3 separate regions of the Homo sapiens genome follow, and regions 1 and 3 are each linked to region 2. The links are contacts of gene promoters, found by promoter capture Hi-C in blood cells and fetal thymus (Javierre and others, 2016). All regions are on one chromosome and are shown on one strand. The core of a region is centred on a gene start or on the middle of the fragment in contact, and the rest is flanking DNA. Distances in the headings are between cores, read along the strand shown. Region 1 has its middle 9.4 kb from the start of EVX2. Region 2 holds the start of GAD1 (glutamate decarboxylase 1). Region 3 holds the start of HOXD12 (homeobox D12).

Region 1 (3,534 bases), core at 133-2,632, 5.3 Mb before region 2:
GGTGATGTATCACCCTGGTTTTCGGTGCTCTTTGCTAACTCGGGGGTTGTAACCCTTAAAAACAAAAGCATTGAGATAGATGGGCCAGCAAACGGAAAAAGACAGTGGCCAAAAAACCCTGTCCAAAATAACAGCATTTTTTTTGTCTCGAGTGTGCAAAGAATGAAAAAATAATTCATCATAAAATGCAGAAGACTGTCTGTCATCAAGCCCGAATTGTTTTTGACAAGAAAATAAATCTGTAGGTTGTTTAATATATTTTATATTTTCTTTATTTCGTCGCTAATGGAAAAACCAAATTAAATGTCCACTAGCGAGATAGAAATGCAAAGATCGATGATCCACCCCCCTACTGTCCAATCACCCCTATTTAATTGACTGTATTTTCTGGGTAATTGAACTGCTTGTTGTAAATTGAAGATTTTATAGAAACGACATGAAAACTACATTTACTGACATTCATCGCATCTTTGACATTGATTATCTGATCAACGCATGTCACGGTAACCTCCAATTCTTCATTACACACTGTTTATGAGCTGTTACAGAACAACTTGCTTGTTCCAGGGTGATTGATTGCCTTATTAACGCGTGTTCTTGTAAGTGTGACCGAACTGATTACGATGCATATGTTTAGAATAATGTTTCATTTAGCTGACTGCGAGTAATGCAGGGTGACAGCTGCTGCAGGGAGGACAAAAAAACCTGAACTACAGGGCGCGTTTGGGACCAAAAAGCCCAAGTTATTTAAGGTGGAACGGACCACCCCGAGAGGAAATTCCAGAGCTTGTTGCTGCTCCTTAGTCGCTCGGAGGAAGCTTACCCTGGCATCCCCGCCCTCCAAACTCAGAAATATGAAACATTTGATGAAACAATCGCTACCCTCTGCAATTAAATAAGTTATGAAGACTAAATATATGGTAAGGGTTTTCCTCTTGTTACTTCTCTTCCATAAATTGTATTTCTTTTTCTTCCCATAATGCTCCGGTGTCCTGGATTTTTAGGTGCAAAAAGAACAAGCAAAGAAATTTACCTTTGTAAAAATCTACTTACTTACACACAGCTCCAAACTCAAAATTCTTCAGTCTGCTATGGATTCCAGGAAAGGTGTCCTTTCAATCCTACCCATCCTGAATCCGCTAAAGGAAGACTTATAACTCTCCCTCCCGCTAAAACTTGAGTCCCTTTCCTGGGCTTTCTGAGGAAGGAAAGTGACCTTTTCCTTTGCCAAGGCCCTGAGCGTTTTTCCTAGGCCGATCAGGTCAGAAGCTGGAGTGCATTTTGGTTTTAGGCTGAACCTTTATTGGCAGCTCTCCCAAACCCCAGTCATCAAAGGCCTACACCTGGAGACCCTGGAGAGCAGCGTAGGGCTCACGCTATAATTTGTCTGTTAATGTTATGAGCCATGATTTGATCAGAAGTGGGGATCTACTTTCAAGTAGCATTCTGAGTTTCCTCTCATAAGGAACCAAAGAAGGGGACATAGAGCCCTGCAGTGGTCATGAGAAGTCAGTCTCTTTTCCTTTCCTCTTTTTCCACCTAGGACTGGCTGCACAATTTTTGGTCCCAGTGCAAAATGAACATGTGGGCCCCTTGTTCAAAAGTTATTAGGAATTTCAAGAGGGCAACAACAGAACATCAAATCAAGCTGGGGGGTGGCTTTTAAGCCCATCACCCTGTGTGACTACAAAGATCCCCACCCACGAAGCCTGCCCTGTCTCACCCCCTCTCAGATGGAGAGACTCCCCTTGAGTTTAAATAACTTATCCCAATAAAAGACTGGCTTGGGAGTAGAGAGGGAGAAATGTAGGGGGTTATGGCTCCTGGGGGCACCTCCCCTTTCTTCAGTGACCTTTTGGCCTGATCCCTTCTCTTTCTTTGGAGCCACTCTCACCTCAGCTTCTCTGACCTAAGGTCTGGGTCCAAAGAATCTCATGGAAGCTTCCTGAACCACTTCTGAGGTGGGAAGGGTCACCCTCTCTTCCAGCTTCCTTTACACCAATTTGCAAAGTATCCACAACTAAGCTCATCATCCCTGACTTAGGAAAACCAGAATCAAGGTGTCTCTGCCTGTGACGGAAACCCAGGGGAGGAGGGGTGGTGGCGGGGGTGGGTTGGGAGGATAGTCCAGTCTGCAAACGAGAAAAGGGGCAGGCTGGTGTTTCTGAGGTTTGAACTCAGAGCAGGCACTTTGGAGTAAAACCAGTGACCTCCAGACCCTGTGGTATTCCCAGCCAAGTTGGGGAGGGCTGGCAGTGGGGGTCTTGGTTTTCCTGGAGCGATGGGAAAGCATGCTGTGAAAATGCTTTTTATAGATTCTCCCACCTCCACCCCAATCTTATTTTAATAAATACATCCTCAGGCATTATTTACAAGCTCACATAATTTACCTATGCTATTTGGCAAAGCAACTTCGCAAAAGAAAGTGAATGAATAAATACTTCATAACTGCTGGTAGAGCAGACTGGGTCCTGTAATGAAGAAAAGATTTATGTCACCTTATTTCAGCCCAAATAGCAGCAGCCTCGGCTTGTCTCAGCCCAGTGCTTCTATTTAAATGTTACTTTCATATATTATGTGGCATTAATTTAACTATAGCTCATTAAGGCAGAATGAAATGGTTAAATTAACTTATCAACCCATAATGATGATGAATGAGGTATTAATTCAGATACAAGCTGGGCAATTTGCAAGTTTACGCATTGTGATGGTTCTCAAATAACATTTTGAATAGCGGGTCAGCGCCTCAATCAATTACATAAGCATGTAAAGTTGGTCTCTCAGAAAAAAAATCCTTTTTCATGCATATGCATTAAAACATGTTCGCAATTATCCTCGGAAATTGCCTTCATTGGATTAAGCAGCAGCCTTGGACGCGGGTTCTGATCTTCCCTGGGCTTTTATTAAAGCTCTGAGCAGCTTTGGCAATAACAGGGCGGATGGGCTGTTTGTTTAAAGAGTGTTTACCAAAGAAAAGGGCCGACGGGGTGTGCTGGTTGATAAACAGGGATCTACCTCCTTGGGAGAAGTTGTTAGGAATCGTCTGACTGCCCCGAGGCTGAGGAGGGAACCCTGTCAGCCCAGACATCGGCTCCGGGGCTTCGGCTTTCCGGGCTAGTAATTAACTGCCACCTCAAAACCAGCCTTGGGTTCAGGCTGTGCTCGCCAGGGAGATACCGTGCCCGGCCCAGCGTTCGCCCACTAGGGGACTCGGGCGGGGGGACGGGTAGGCACACAGGCAGCCTCCTGCGATCCTTGGTTCATCCAAGCCAGACCAGCAAATGACTTACTTAGTCCTGGGATGGGGGCTCTGGAGGGGGATTTAATGAGCCCTTTGGCAGGAGCTGATTCAGGGCGGCGGTGACCCGTTGTTTCCACCTTCATGCCAAGACGGTTGGCGAATCTCTGCGGATATCCTGCTCGGTTTGACAACTTTGTGTGGGAGAAGAGTTAGCCCAGGTTCAACTCTGGAGTGGAAGCTACAGGAGGGCAGGGCTTGGCCTCAGATATCTCATCTGCAACCCCACCCCAATC
Region 2 (3,483 bases), core at 962-3,461:
GAAAGGAGGAGGTCAGATCTTGGCTCAACGAAAGCCGGGGACTGAAAACTCTTATTCCTGCTGGGGCTCCTAGCTCTTCATTCCGCCCCCTGCGCTGACCCCTGTCGTCCCACGGAGCAAAGAAACCACACACAACAGAATAAAAACAACACCCTGGCTGCGCGCCCCTCCTCCTCCGCGAAGCCCTCAACGATCGCCGCTGCTCGGACCTTGCGTGGTCCTCGCTTTCCGGTGCCCTGGGAGTCACCTAGCGTCCCTGACAGCCGAATGACCTCTGGCAGGGACGGGGTCAGAGCCCCATTTATTTCCCAGCCTCCATTATCTCCGCGCTCCCCCTTCCCTTTCCGCCAGCTCAGCCTCCCGACGTCCCAGCGCCCCCATCTTCCCTGCAGTTCATTTGATAGAAAATTGGGGCGGGACCTACTTGTGGGGCGCAGGTTAGTGGTATTGGGGTCCGCTCCCGCGTTCGAGGAGGTTGCGGACGAAGATGGGGTCGAAGACGCCATCAGCTCGGTCGTCCCGGGGCCTCTACTGTCCAGAGTCCTCGACTGGTCCGGCGCAGAAACAGGCTGCAAAGAGAAGCGAGAGCTGTGCGGGGAGGACTTCCGGGGTCCTGCACACCGGAGGGACTGAGCAGCCGGGGGCACGGAGGCTCCCCTTGAAGATCCGGCTCTGGAGAGACAAGAGGGAGGAAAGGCAGCGAGCCTGCCTGGTAGGGGTGCGCAGGGGTGGGGGCAGCGGAGGAGACGTGCGCGCTAGCTCCGGTACTGGGGCGCAGGGAGCGTAGCCCTGGGCCGCTCTCGAGTCTGGCGGTGCATCGGCGCGACCTGGAGTGAAGCGCCGAGACGAGGCGGGGTCGGGGTCGGGGTGGGGGTCCAAGGCCAGTACAAGACGCAAGGGTGTGGGGGACTAGGCTAGGAGCACAGGGGAGCGCTCAGTGAGCGATTTTCCAGCCGAGCCGCTACAAGCCCCATTGGGCACTCAGCAGCCGGCGTGTGGGCCAGCGGGGGGAGGGCGCACGGGGCGGGCATGTCTGGTTCGGTGTCTGGTTCCCGTTGTTGTGTCTGGCTAATTCCCTGGAAAGAAAGAGGCTAACTGCTCCGGGGACTAGGGACTTTGGTGAGACAAGGTGAGAGGGGGAAAAAGGCCCATATCTTTACGTTCTCCCTCGGACTTGGCCAGAGAAGAACCACAGTCACCTTGCACTCCAGACAGCCAGAAAGCAGCGAGTCGGAATGTTGCTTGCCTCCCTCTTATCCCAGCCGGTTTTTAGCCATCGCTAAGCCTAGGGCGAGGTTTCGGTCCGGTTTCAGCGTTTCTCCTCTACCTAGCCCCCTGAGGACCCCAGATTTCTCGCGGTACAGATCCAGAGAGGGTGGGGTAAGTAAGCATGGGGAACGTCACCGGGGAAACGAACTTGCGCGCAGCGCGCAGGAGGCGGCGGACAAAGATCTTGCGCGGCGCCCCTGCTCGACTCTCGGCGCTGGCGCGATGGCGCCCGAAGGCCCCGGGACAGAGAGATTGCGGGCTAATCTGGGTAGATCGAGGACCCCACAGAGAAGGGCCCACCGGCCATCGCCTCCACACCCTCCCTCCGACCTCACTCCTAGCCCCGCGCGCGCAGTCGCACAGCAACTCGGGCAGCGGGTCGACTACGGCCCCTGGAAAAGTAACAGGTTACCGTTCCTAGTAGCGCCTTCGGCTGCTGCTGCCCAGGCGCCCTTTGGAGGGACAGGCGCTCGCAGCATGGAAGCTCAAGGGAAAATCGCTCTTGCCCCACTTCAACTAGAGCCTCAGCCTCCGTGCTTCCCCGGGGCGTGAATCCGGAGGGCAGGGATAAGAAGAGTGACGAGGGAGGCGGGGGGGGGGGGGTCCCTGCGCAGCGCACCCGTGGAGAGCAGGGACTAGGGCGGGCAGGAAGCACTCATTTCGGGAGGTTGGGTGGCCGGCGCTGGGATGGGGTTGGTTGAGAAGCCGCGGGAGGAGAGGACCTGGCTGAAAAGCCACGGTTGGGCGCTGGGAAGTCCAGGTGGTCGCTAGCTTACCCACCTCGGCTCTGCGACAGCGAGCCGGGCACTCCCGCCTTTCCTCTGCACAGCGCCCAGCGATCCGCTCGGCTCGGCCCTGACAGGCGTAATCTGCCCGGCGTCACCTCCAGCTGCTTCCTCGTTCTCGCTAGTTCCCTCTCGCACGCGAGCGCCAGGAGAAGAGAGAGATTCGGAGAGGCGGCTGCACGGCTCCGGGGTAGGCGGGGGCAGAGTGGGGAGGCGGGGACCGGATCGGCGGGGAAATCACGAGGCCGTTGCTCGCGGGGGCAGCTAGTCGGCGGAGCGGCGGGGCTCCTCTGCAGGTGCCTGACCGCCTCTGGAGCTTTATAGGGCGATTATAAATCCAGCTCACGGTTTTGCGCCCGGAAGGAAAAAAAAAAGGTCTTATGAGTAATCCAGAACGTACTCAACACGCTTTTTTTTTTTCCTTTGGAAATAGGCAGGCTGTCGGGTGAGAGGAGGGAAAAGATAATTCCTACGAAGAATTCTGCCTTTCTGAGCGTTTCTTCTTCCCTCCCCTCCTTTCCCCTCTCCCATTTCCCCTCCCCCTCCCATATATTGTAGGAGACGAGCGGCGGTTTTGCCTCAGTGCTTTTCCCCGGGGTTCCCCCAGATCTGTGACCCTGCGACGCTTCCTTGAGCGAAAGCGCGCTTTGGGTCGTGTCCTCGTTGGCTCTCTACGGAGCTGGGATTGTTGTAACCGCAAAGGAGGCAGAAATGAGGGGAGACCTCTTAGACCATGGAGGAATTACAGTTTCCTCATCCAGCCCTGGGCCCCATCAAAGTACCACACCTGGCCACAGCTACCCAGTGCCACCGGCAGAGAAAAGGACCCCGCGTCCCTTTTGCTATGCGCTCGCTCCTCGCTTTGGCCCCCTTGGTGATGGGAAAAGAAGGCCTCCTGATTAATCACGTTTGAAGGTTGATGACACGCACGAGCGCCGCTGCACGCGCATGGGGCACCCGAGCACAGAGGTGCCCGGAAGGGGCGGACCAGCCCCCCTTGCCCTGGCCCGCTCCCCCTTCGATTTCACGCGCTTTAAGGATTCTCCCTTTGCAATATTTAGGCGTAGTTAAAAGAACCGCTGCGTTGGGAGAAGCCCCTCGCCGTAAAAATGCGTTGAAAGAGAAATTCCCACCAGAGGGCGCCAAGAGCCCAGAGACGGAGAGGCCCTGCGCTCCCGGGTCTCTCCGCCAGCGCCCGAGCGGAGCCCACACCTGGAGCTGCTGGCCAGACGGTTACGCGCCGGCTTGCCTCTTCATGCCTTCCCTCACCGCCCTGTCACTAGTTTAAGTTCTCCCCTTTCTTCTCCCCCAGTTTTTTTCTTTAGGGCAAAAATGTTGATGTCTGTGCGTGTCTGGGTGACACCGTGTAGGCAGTGATTCCTTTACTGGTATTTACCGTGGTCCTCCCCCTCTCCCCAGGTGGTGCAGC
Region 3 (3,584 bases), core at 851-3,350, 5.3 Mb before region 2:
CAAGAGCAGCTAGCGGGGCAGAGAATCTAAGAGACTTCCTTCCCCTCCCCTTGACTCTTGAGAAGGATTTTTGCCTATCCTTATGGGGTTCCATTAAGGTAATTGAAGAAAGAAAGATGCACCAACACCTTTACTCACCTCAACTGGAAAGCCATATTTACAGTTGGAGTGCAGCACCCCTCCTCCTCTTATTCACTCCCTTCTCCTCCCCTGGATATTTTTCCCTCTCCCTGTGCAACAGAGCTTCAAAGCAGACCAACAGCTCCTTTCACCAGAGCTAGCCTCTGGGGATCCAGTTACAGGGTTCATAGGCCTGGCCTAGGCATGTTTGAGAAGGTGGGAGTAGGGCAATGTTTGCCAGTCTTGTCTGGAGATGGCACTTGTCTGGAGTCCCAGTCTCTCTCATCCCATCTCAGGAAATGAAGGTTCCACATATTCTACCCAGCTGGAAATAGGCCAGCCTATTTCGCATTTCTCATTTCGAGATATCTCCAAGTTTACCCCACTACCCAGCCCCTCCCCTTCCCTCCCTTTTCCTCCCAAAGTCTGAAGATCTAGTGTGGCTTTTGTTCTCTCAAATCAGCCAGGGCAGACAGGAGGGTGGAGGGTGGATGGTGCCCTTTCCTTTCTCCAGAGTGAAGATCCTGGCCTTGCCACAAAGGGCTTCTGCTGCAGAGACCTAATTGTACCCACAGTCCTTTCCATTCCCTCAGGAGGCCTTCCACTCTGAGCCCTAACTAGGCGACTGCTATACGCTGAAGGGGCTGGAGAGAGGGGGAAAGGGAGAACGAATTGGGTGGAAACAGAAAAATCCAGGTACCGGGGAGCAAGAATGAGCGGTGGGTGCAAATGCCCCAGCCAGGAGCAAGGAGAGTTGGCCTCAGTCCCCCAACGTGGAAGCCTTAAGGCCAGCCAGAGTTGCACTGGTACTTCCGCACGTTTCTCACGGGCTTCTCAGGGACTGAGGAAAGCAAGGAGGCCCAACTGGCCTGGTCTGTAAATCTCTTGGTGGCTTCTGGGGCCAGCAGAGAAGGAACCGAAGGAAAAGCCTTAGCCTTAGCCCCAGATCCCCCTCCCCAAACAAGGCCTCTGTCCAAAAGGGCAGATCCAACCCGGCCCTGGCCACGCGCGCGGCTAGTAGAGCGCCAGCGCCTGCTCCCGAAGCACCACGCGCTTCTTCTTCATACGCCTGTTCTGGAACCAGATTTTGACTTGCTGGTCGCTGAGGTTCAGCCTATTGGACAATTCCTTGCGTTTCTGCCTGTTGATGAATTCGTTGACGAGGAATTCGTTCTCCAACTCCGCAATCTGCTGCTTCGTGTAGGGTTTCCGCTTCTTGCGGGCCCTCCCCGGGGCCGCCCCCCACGGCAGGCCTGCAACACAGCCCCAACCCACGTCAACCCAGCCCGTACTCTGTCTATTGCCCGCCCCCAGGCGGTTCACCTCCCCTTACACTCTCCCTTGAACCCCACCTCCCATCCCGGCCCAAACCGGCCCGGGGAGCATGGGCACCGTTTACCGTCGGGCAGTGAAGGTCGCAGGCAAGAGGCAACGCCCGCCGCCTGCACTGTCATGTTCAAGTTGAGCGGGCCCTTGGTGTCGTCCTTGAAGCCAGGGGCGCAGGGAGCCCCCTGGAGCAGGGTCGTGGAGCCCGGCGTGGCACGACCCACACCAGCGTAGTCATACTTGGCCGCTTTGAGAGCAGCCACTGCAGGAGCCAGGCTAGACTCGGGGGCGAAGGACGGCCGGGTACGACCGCGCTCCTCTGGCCCAGCGGCCGCTTCGGGCGCATAGAACTTAGCCTGCTCTTCGGGTCCGTCTTTGGCTGTTGGGGGCTGCAGGCCGAGAGGCCCGGAGCCAGCCAGGTAGGGCTGCGAGAAGCCGCCGAAGGCAGTGGCGCCCGCAGGCTGCGCGGGGGCGCAGGAGGCGGGCGTGGCGGCCCAGGGCAGCGCGCCGCGCGGGTAGGAGATAGGGGGAAGCGCGGCCAACTGGCCGCCATTCGGCCTCAGGTTGGAGAAGTAGAAAGAGTCTGGCGACTGCAGATTCAGAAGCGAGCCCACATAGCCCGCTCTGTAGAGACTGCGCTCACACATCTCCAACAAAGGGCTTCGGCTGCGCTCGCAACAGTATTTAGTTACAACCGGGAATAAGAGGACAGGCTCAGACGATTGGACGAAACTTTGCCTGCAGGTTCTTCAAAGCCGGTCATTTCAGCACCGCCTACATCCCCCCGACCCGTTTTCCCCCCCTTCAGAGTATTATGATAACACCCGCAATGTTCGATGGCGAAGGACGAGGCTGCCAGCAGAGCCAAATCAGGTTGAGCGAAGACTAACTGTCTGCGGGTTTCCAGGCCCGGCTTCAGCAGCTGGGGACATCGGGCAAGAGGGTGACTCTGCCCAAGTGTCCCCTGGGACTCTTCTTGGTCGTGATTGGCTTTGCGATTCGTTTTCCGCAGGCTTTCTGGGCCCGGCTTGCTTCTACCGGCTTTAAGTTGCAGCGGAGGCATTTTCCATTAACCGGCGCCTCTCGACTTATCCGGAGAGGGCGCGGTCCGGCGGCACCAGGAGCTCTGTCCCTTGGCCTGAGCAATGTCACTTTTACCCCAATCACTCCCACAGAGAGGGTTTCTCCAGAGACCTCTGCCTGAGGATCTGGCAGCAAAGACCCATTCGCTACTTGAGCCCTCAGTCCCAGGCCGCAGACACAAAAAGGGCATCACAAACTACCCAATTTTGGGATCCAGGAAGGAGGCCACACTATTTCTGGTTTGTGTCCCCATGGCTAAGAACTCTGATCATAGGGAAATTGCCATACAGGTCCATGGAGAATGTCCGCCAGGGAACCCATCAGCTCGATCCACCAATCGTGGCCAAAGGCTACATTCCTTTTATCTTCAGGAGTCCTCTCCAGGACTACACACTGCAAACCAGAACTCCGAGGTGTCCCCATCCACCAAGTGGAGGGCAAAGCAGGACGAACTCCCCCGACTGGGTGTGGAAAGGCAGAAGAGCCAGAACCACCTGGCCGGGGAACAGCGGGCGTTCGGAGGCAGCTGGCTAGCAGAGTTCCTTGCCTCAGCGCCCCCAGGGGTGCCGGGGATAGGGAGTTCACGGGTCTGACAAACAGGGAAGTGGGAAAGGCAGCAGTTCTTAGCCGGGAGCGGTGTGCTCAGACCCCGTCGCTGGCCCTCTTGCCTAGTCCGGCCAGAGGACTAGGGGTCCTCCCCTCCTGCCTCTGATCCCAAGACCCTGGGAGACCCGGTGACCGGCGCCAGTCTCAGCCTGCAGCAGGACCCTCGGTCTCCGAGCCAAGCTGGAATTGGTTAGATCGCGGGCTCCTGCACTGAGACCACACAGGCGCCGCCGGAGGGCAAGACTGACCGCCGCGCTGCCACTTTATTGTGTGAGTTATGGCGACCAATTGGGTGGCTCTGGGGAACGCAATCGGCCTCTTCCTCCTGCTCTGGTGGGGGGGAGAGAGGGAGTGAGGACGGGGGGGTGGGGATGTCTGGGGCTCCTCTGGCTCTGCCAGAGAGTTTCCTTAGGAGCCCAGGCATAGAGACTCACTCGCTCTCGTCCTCT

What was found. Contacts are between HindIII fragments. The CHiCAGO score rates a contact against its expected background, and 5 or more counts as called.
Region 1: a fragment that was not itself captured here is called in contact with the fragment with the promoter of GAD1 in region 2 in 1 of 17 cell types (total B cells); the score reaches 8.7 in total B cells.
Region 3: the fragment with the promoter of HOXD12 here is called in contact with the fragment with the promoter of GAD1 in region 2 in 2 of 17 cell types (total B cells and naive B cells); the score reaches 17.6 in total B cells.

Annotation. Positions count from the first base shown.
Region 1 is chr2:176,072,799-176,076,332 of GRCh38, reverse strand. No RefSeq gene overlaps it. Among named protein-coding and RNA genes, the nearest start is that of EVX2, 9.4 kb to the left of the region's middle. RefSeq lists enhancers at 1-991, 3,163-3,534. The HindIII fragment of the contact is 1,123 bases long and covers 821-1,943 here.
Region 2 is chr2:170,815,615-170,819,097 of GRCh38, reverse strand. GAD1 (glutamate decarboxylase 1) reads right to left here and starts at 2,211. Exons shown (of 17, transcript NM_000817.3): 1 at 2,050-2,211; 2 at 425-569. The coding sequence starts at 506. GAD1-AS1 (GAD1 antisense RNA 1) reads left to right here and starts at 447. Exons shown (of 4, transcript NR_197761.1): 1 at 447-712; 2 at 1,183-1,380; 3 at 2,066-2,244; 4 at 2,613-3,483. RefSeq lists enhancers at 1-296, 297-820, 2,060-2,229 and a silencer at 2,317-2,396. The HindIII fragment of the contact is 11,655 bases long and covers 1-3,483 here.
Region 3 is chr2:176,098,311-176,101,894 of GRCh38, reverse strand. It overlaps HOXD12 (homeobox D12), which reads right to left and starts at 2,100. Exons shown (of 2, transcript NM_021193.4): 1 at 1,520-2,100; 2 at 1-1,373. The coding sequence starts at 2,093. The coding sequence ends at 1,135. RefSeq lists an enhancer at 1,513-2,245. The HindIII fragment of the contact is 6,365 bases long and covers 1-3,584 here.